Linked DNA regions of Homo sapiens: all the other regions are linked to region 1. The links are contacts of gene promoters, found by promoter capture Hi-C in human tissues and cell types (Jung and others, 2019). All regions are on one chromosome and are shown on one strand. Each heading gives the region's core, a stretch centred on a gene start or on the middle of the fragment in contact. The rest is flanking DNA. Distances are from core to core; before and after follow the strand shown.

Region 1 (2,526 bases), core at 7-2,506:
GTAGTCTCAGCTACTCGGGAGGCTAAGGCAGGAGAATGGCGTGAACCCGAGAGGCGGAGCTTGCAGTGAGCCAAGATCGCGCCACTGCACTCCAGCCTGGGCGACAGAGCGATCCTCCGTCTCAAACAAACAAACAAACAAAAAAACCCACTACAGTATACATCTACACCCCACCAATTTTTAGAGGCAGGGTAGTGAGGTTCAGACTGGGCCCACCTCTACCACTTGTCAACACGTGATCTTGGGTAAGCTACCAAATTCTCTTAGCCCATGCTATCACGTGAAGATGAATGAGACTGGAATGTCAGCGAGACAGAGCATGATGGGGCTATAGGAGGGGGGTATGGTCAGATCTTGCAGGGCCGTGTGAACTACCATAAAGGTTTTGGACTTTTCTTCTTTCTTTCTTCTTTTCTTTCTTCTTTCCCTTTTCTTTCTTCTTTCTTCTTCTTCTTCTCCTTCTTCTTTCTTCTTCTTCCGCCTCTCCTTCTTCTTCTTTTTCGTTTAGACATGAGGTGTCACTGTCACCCATGCTAGAGTGCAGCATGCAACCTCAAACTGCAACCTCAAACTCCTGGACTCAAGCGATGCTGCTGTCTCAGGCTTCTGAGTAGGTGGGACTACGGGTGTACACCACCACGCCCGGCTTGGATCTAGTATTCTAAGTTCAATGGGTTGTGTTTTTTGTTCCAATTTATTATAACTTTTCAATTGGAACATAATGTCTACAAATAAATGCAAAAATCTTGCCGAGTTCAATTAGTTTGGACAATTATATACGTCAATGTTATACCACCGAAAACAAAATACAGAACATTTCCATCATCTCAGAACAGTCCCAAGTGCCCCTTTCCTGCTAATTCTCCTTGTCTCCGGAACACTTAAGGGTGCTAAGCATGTTATGTTTGCGGTGGGTTTTTTTTTTAACTTAGATGTGGTAATATATGTTTGCGTTTCCAAAGGATCACTCTGGCTGCCGAGCAGAGGACAGCAATGCGGGTAAAGCACAGGCCAGGCGAGGGATAATCAGGCGGGATTGCACGGAGGTCGCCTAGCAACAGAAAGCGCTGTCGGGGGCGGGGGAACCGCTCTGCTCCTGTGAAAGGAGGAGGCCCCGCCCTCTCCTCGCCCTCTCTCTGCCCCACGCTGTGCGCGAGCACACAGGCAGCCCCGCCCCGCCTCGGCGGGGTGGGGGTGGACAGAGGTTTCTTATTGGTGAGTTTTCCGGAAGCGATGGATTCGGAATCTCGCCCGCAGTCGCGCAAGCGCGAGCGGCTGTGCGCGGTGCGTGGTGCGTGGTGCGTGATACGAGCGGCGGCACGTGGCGCGGGTGCGGGGCGTGGAGTGGCGTGGCGTGGAGTGGCGTGGCGTGGCGGGGTCTCGCGGCGCGGGCGCGCACCCGGAGCTGTGGACGGAGAGTGCCTCCCTCTGGCCTCAGTTTCCTCATGTTGTAGTAGCGGAGCATGGCCCGGACCGGGCCCCCGAGACCGCCCCGTGCAACCTCACCGCCAGCCTGGGGGCCTCAGCGACTGGGACGGGACCAAGGGGCTCGGGGATTCTCCCTGCCCCCGGCCCTGGTGCGTGACTGACCCTCCTGTTCCCAGAGCCCCCAGCGCAGGCCGGGATGTTCGTCCTGGTGGAAATGGTGGACACCGTCCGGATCCCCCCTTGGCAGTTTGAGAGGAAGCTCAACGACTCCATTGCCGAGGAGCTGAACAAGAAGTTGGCCAACAAGGTACTGGGCCCACGGCTCGCGGGCAGGCCTTGGCGTGGGAGAGCGAGCGCCGCCCACTGGCCGCAGGCCCGGCCTCGGTCATGCCAAGCCCTGGCCGTGGGCAAGCAGCTTAATGTCTCAGAACTTTTCTTCACCGTGAAAGGAGATATTGAAGGGGATCAAAAGAAAATGGGCTTGAAAAAGGGAGTTGTAACTGGAAGTGTTAGATTCCACAATTCTAAATTACTTTGCAATTGCAGGCAAGTTACTGACCCCTTCTGGGCCTCAGTTTCCATTTTTAAAATGGGGATAAAATATTGCTGTCCTTCCAGCCATGCATTGTTTTTGTTGTTGTTGTTGTTTGTTTTGTTTTGTTTTGTTTTTTGTTTTTGAGACGGAGTCTTGCTCTTTCGTCCAGGCTGGAGTGCAGTGGCGCGATCTCGGCTCACTGCAACCTCCGCCTCCCGGGTTCAAGCGATTCTCCTGCCCCAGCCTCCCGAGTAGCTGGGACAACTACAGGCGCGCGCCACCACCCCCAGCTAATTTTTGTATTTTTCGTAGAGACGGGGTTTCACCATTTTGGCCAGGATGGTCTCGATCTCTTGATCCCCCCGCCTCGGCCTCCCAAAGTGCTGGGATTACAGGTGTGCGCCATCGCCTCGGGTCAATGCATTGTTTTCGTGAAGATGGAGAGTTCTAGTAGTACAGAATTAACTGTCAGGAGGTTCATCCCTTCATTCCAGCAGCCAATATTTGTGCGCCTTCTCTGTGCTGTGCCTGTGTGCCTTAGTACCAGCTGAGAGGTCTTCCCA
Region 2 (2,526 bases), core at 1-2,500, 380 kb after region 1:
CCATCACAGACGAATCTAAATGTAAACCAAAACTTTGCTTACACAACTTAGATAAACCGTTGAATTTATACTAACAAAAAGTTAAAATTCAAAAGACAATCTAGCAGAAGTATTTCTAAATTTCTAATGAAGAGTTAATAAAACTAATACACAAAGAGCTTTTAGAAATCAGTAAGAATAAAAAAGATAATTGAAAATCAAGCAACAGACATGAAGAAACATGAAGGGCATATAAATTGGTTTACACAGGAAAAGATGATCAAGGATTACAAATCAAGATAGGTTTTGCTAATGTGATAGGGGAGAAAAATCCTAAGAGGTGACATTTCCTATATGCTACTAGTTGGAAAGTACATTTTGAGAGTAGAACCAATAGATTCAGCTACTGCAAATGCACATGATATTTGTCTCCTAAGTAGTTTCTTGTATAAACTTGTTCATCAACCAAGTAAATAAATGGATTATAGTATGTTACAGAATACTATGCATCCATTAAAAATGCAGCAGACATAAATGAGTGTCTATGACCAGCCAGGCGTGGTGGCTCCCGCCTGTAATCCCAGTACTTTGGGAGGTCGAGGTGGGTGGATCTTTTGAGGTCAGGAGTTCAAGACCACCCTGACCAACATAATGAAACCCTGTCTCTAGTAAAAATACAAGAATTGGTCAGACATGGTGGTATGTGCCTGTAATCCCAGCTACTCGAGAGGCTGAGGCAGGAGAGGCTGAGGCAGGAGAATTGCCTGAACCCAGGAGGTGGAGGTTGCAGTGAGCTGAGATCACACCATTGCACTCCAGCCTGGGTGATGAAAGTGAGACTCAATTAAAAAAGTCTATGACTTATAACAAAATACAAAAATTAAAAATTAAATACACATAAATCAAGAAAATGTGCCAGGTGCAGTGGCTCATGCTGTAATCCCAGCACTTCGGGAGGCCGAGGTGGGTGGATCACCTGAGGTCGGGAGTTCAAGACCAGCCTGACCAATATGATGAAACCCTGTCTCTACCAAAATACAAAAATTAGCCGGGCATGGTGGCACACACCTATAATCCCAGCTACTAGGGAGGCTGAGGCAGGAGAATCACTTGAACCTGGGAGGCAGAGGTTGCAGTGAGCCGAGATCGCGCCACTGCACTCCAGCCTGGGCAACAAGAGCGAAACTCTGTCTCAAAAAAAGAAAAAAAGAAAATGTATGATTGTATGTACAAAAGAGTGTTATTCCTGTAGTGAGGAATCTGGGTGGGAAGAGAGAAGCTGAGACCGTCGCTTTTTACTTCATAAACTGTCATACTATTCAAATTTTATAATGAACATAAATTACTTTTAAGAAAAAGCAAGCTTAACACAGTAATAACAGATTATTTTCATTCAGTTGACTGATCCTAAATTAGAAGAACCACAAGAAGTCTCTTAATCATTCTTACGAAATCTGTTAAGGAAAGCACTAAAAAGGCACACTTAAAAGACAAGTCACACTGAAAATAAAGTATCCACTAAACCATCACCTATTTTCCTTAGTGTTATTTTCTATGTGAAAATAACGGTGAAAAAAAGAAAAGTGAAATCTGTCAATTAGCCTGCCCTTTCTTGTAACCTCCAAATCAGGAACAACAATCAGCCCAAGAACAGAGCAGAAGAGATGGAGATCCCATCTTAATGAGAGGCACTGGATGTCCCATATACCCGCTTCCTTTGGAACATGGCTGGGATTAGTTCCTCTTGTACAGAGCGATGGCCCCTCCCTTTTACTAGGCAATTACACTATGACTGCAGCCTTATAACTTGCTGTTCCTGCCCTAACCAAATGGTGACCCTTACCAGGGCCAGACCTATTCATGCCAGCAGCATGATCCTAGTTTCTAGATGCCGGAACAAAAGCATTTACTTTTTTCTTTGAGACAGAGTCTCACTCTGTCACCCAGGCTGGAGTGCAGTGGCGTGATCTCAGCTCACTGCAACCTCCCCCTCACAGGTTCAAGTGATTCTCTTCCCTCAGCCTCCCTCCTGAGTAGCTGGATTACAGGCGTGCACCACCACGCCAGGCTAATTTTTGTATTTTCAGTAGACACGAGGTTTTGCCATGTTGGTCAGGCTGGTCTGGAACCCCTGTCCTCAGGTGATCCGCCCGCCTCGGCCTCCCAAAGTGCTGGGATTACAGGCGTGAGCCACCTCGCCTGGCCATAAATATTTACTTTTGATGTGTAATAACTACAATATAATTTTAATAAACAATCCAGCAGAATAAAATATATTTATATGGCTAAGAAGAATGCATAAAAATAAGATAAAAATCTATTTTTGGATACTAGGTTACTTAATTTTTAAAAAGCGAACTATAATTATCGTGGCCAAACCCAAAGAAAACAATTTAAAGATAGTAACTTTGAAGATATAATACAGTCAATTGCATAGAATAAAAAACTTGTTAATATTCACGATAAAGAAAAATTCCAGAGAAAGTAACAACGTTAAGACTTACCCAGCAGGCCAGATGATCTCATGGTGAAGGACACAGATCTGAT
Region 3 (2,526 bases), core at 16-2,515, 300 kb before region 1:
GCCCTTAAACCATTCAGGCAAAAATGAAAGACCCCAACATCCCACCATCTTACCCTTCCATCCATTACCATGCCCCCAAATCTCCCTAAAACTAAAGAGAAAAAGAATACTTGCAAAGCAGGTTATCAAATCACGCTACAAATACAAACATCCACTCAAATTTGCATACACTATGTACTCTGGGCTGGGAGCTGGAGGATCCTATGTGCCTTGTGTGGAACTCCGCACAGGGCAAAGACTGAAAAGTATTCGTTTTCTTCCCATCTCCCATGCTCACAGAGAAGAAAGAGAAACCTAACCAACTCCATAAACTGCGACAAGGGCAAGAACAGACAAGTGCCTCACAAAGAAAGGGCTGTCAGAGAGCAGAGAAAGGACTGATCCATCCTGGCAGGCAGTGAAAACCGAGCTTAACGGATGAAAAGGGTTTATAAATTAGAGAGAGGGAAGGGTATTCCAGGCAAAGGAAATAGTTTGAGCAAAACCACAGTATCAGGAAATGTCCTGCCAGCTGCTGAAGTAGAGACAGCACGGTGCAAAATGGAGAGATGGAGCTGCCTGTGAAAGGCCTGACTTAATGCTACCATGTATATTTGGCGGCAGAAACTGCTTTTATTTCAGAGGCAAGGAAAGGCACAGAATACATGGTGGGCATTTGCCACTTTTGTTCCATTTGTCCATCATCAGACCCGACCCTCCCATTAGCACCCTGATCTTCCTTTGGAGAATCCCCATTGGGCAGTCCTCATGTGAGGGAAGGTTTCCTGCCAGTCAGCTCTGATTAATGCATCCTCCCACCAGGAGTGCGACCCTTGAGGGAATGACCCAGGAAAGCAGAGACAATATACAGATCATGAAGGCGGAGGAGTACTAAGCAGGAGCCTCCTTGGTTCTGGCCCATTTTCCAAATTGGCTCTCCAGCTTTTCTAGTCACTCCAAGAACCACCCTTCTAACAAATCCTTTTCTGTTCAAGCTAGATAGAAGCGGTTTCTGCTGCTTATCACCAAGAATCCTGACTGATAAAGAACACACTGAAGCAAGGAGGCACCTGACCAAAACCCTGTTTGTGGAAGATAACGAACAGCACAGTTATCAAGAGTGTGGTCTACACAAAACCCAGACACTCGAGCACCAGCACTGGTCAAGCCCTTCAAAATGGCTGTTCACTCAGCCTGGAACACAGCTGCTCTCTCCTTCCACCCCTTTAAGACCTCAGCTTATCCCTGAGAAGGCTCCTCTGATCCTGCCCCCTCCACTAGTTAGGTGTTCCTGTTGGACAACATCCCAGACCTTCCACATTCAGATCTTTGGGGGTATACCCTGGGAGTTCATAGACACATTCAAGTTTGAGAACCTCTGTCCTATGCAGTACTCTGACACACATATTCCTAGAGCATGCCAAATTATTCCCAACTTTGTCTAAATCTATCTAAATAAACACCATGCCTGCTCCTTTACCTTCTAAAATCCTATTTACTCACCCTTCACAATTCAGCCCAAATGCCAAAGTCCTTGTGAAGATTTTTCTAATTCCCTTCCTCAGTCCTCCAAAGATTTAGAGTTGTTCCTCTGTTATAGCCTCTGTTGTATTTTCCCATGTATTATGACTGGATGTTTACATGTTAGCTCCCTGAAAGCAGAGGCCATTTCATTCAACTCTAACAGCTTCTAGCACTGTGCTATGAATACAGTGGATACTCATTCACGTTGAAATGCAGCAAGGATTTTTTAAAAACAACTTTTGACCAGAGAAGGGGCTCCTAGACAGACAGGCTTCCTGAATCAAGGCATCTCCCACCTCATTTTCATAGGACAGCGAAGAATATGGAATCCCACATCAGAAAATCCAAGTTCATTCCCCGTCATCAGCATAGGAAGCATTGGCAAATCATCTAATTTCTCTGTCTCAGTGCCTTCATCTATGTCCATGGAAAATGGGCATAAAAATCAAGCCATGGGCAGGCGCAGTGGCTCACACCTGTAATCGCAGCACTTTGGGAGGCCAAGGCAGGTGGATCACGAGGTAAGGAGTTCAAGACCAGCATGGCCAACATGTTGAAACCTCATCTTTACTAAAAATACAAAAATTAGCCTGGCATAGTGGCACACACCTGTAATCCCAGCTACTCGGGATTACAGGAGACAGGAGAATTGCTTGAACCCAGGAGGCAGAGGTCGCAGTGAGCAGAGATCGTGCCACTGCACCCTAGCCTGGGCGACAGAGCAGGACTCTTGTGGGGGTGGGGGGTGGGGGTGGAAATCAAGCCTCAATTTTATAGCACTTATTAGGAAGACAAATGTATCAGGAGGACTTGGGTAAAGTGTAAGGCCTCACAGGAATGTTAGCACTTGGGAAGAAGCATGATTTCCTTTCACAGCTGTGGGATGGAGGGGGCTTAAGCTGGGCAGACACCAGGTTAGCAAAGCAGTTCCATATCTGGTTCAGCAGCTCGAAATTTCATCACTGTTCCAAACTAGATCCTGAACCCAACAGACCTGTTCCACAGGGCCACGTGGAGGAGCAA

What was found. The method cuts DNA at HindIII sites, captures the fragments that hold promoters and counts their contacts. A contact is called where the count stands out against the background at its distance.
Region 2: a fragment that was not itself captured here is called in contact with the fragment with the promoter of POLR3H in region 1 in 1 of the 25 tissues and cell types used here (spleen).
Region 3: a contact is called between a fragment that was not itself captured here and the fragment with the promoter of POLR3H in region 1, in 1 of the 25 tissues and cell types used here (liver).

The regions. Positions count from the first base shown.
Region 1 is chr22:41,543,200-41,545,725 of GRCh38, reverse strand. POLR3H (RNA polymerase III subunit H) reads left to right here and starts at 1,256. Exons shown (of 6, transcript NM_001018050.4): 1 at 1,256-1,735. The coding sequence starts at 1,625. RefSeq lists silencers at 1,066-1,165, 1,356-1,485 and enhancers at 1,536-1,625, 1,636-1,735, 1,058-1,895. The HindIII fragment of the contact is 26,348 bases long and covers 1-2,526 here.
Region 2 is chr22:41,164,088-41,166,613 of GRCh38, reverse strand. It overlaps EP300 (EP300 lysine acetyltransferase), which reads right to left. Exons shown (of 31, transcript NM_001429.4): 22 at 2,484-2,526; 23 at 1-15. Among named protein-coding and RNA genes, the nearest start is that of EP300-AS1, 32 kb to the left of the region's middle. The HindIII fragment of the contact is 6,950 bases long and covers 1-2,526 here.
Region 3 is chr22:41,844,660-41,847,185 of GRCh38, reverse strand. The region is part of intron 1 of SREBF2 (sterol regulatory element binding transcription factor 2); the gene reads right to left. Among named protein-coding and RNA genes, the nearest start is that of SREBF2-AS1, 11 kb to the right of the region's middle. RefSeq lists an enhancer at 1-722. The HindIII fragment of the contact is 6,451 bases long and covers 1-2,526 here.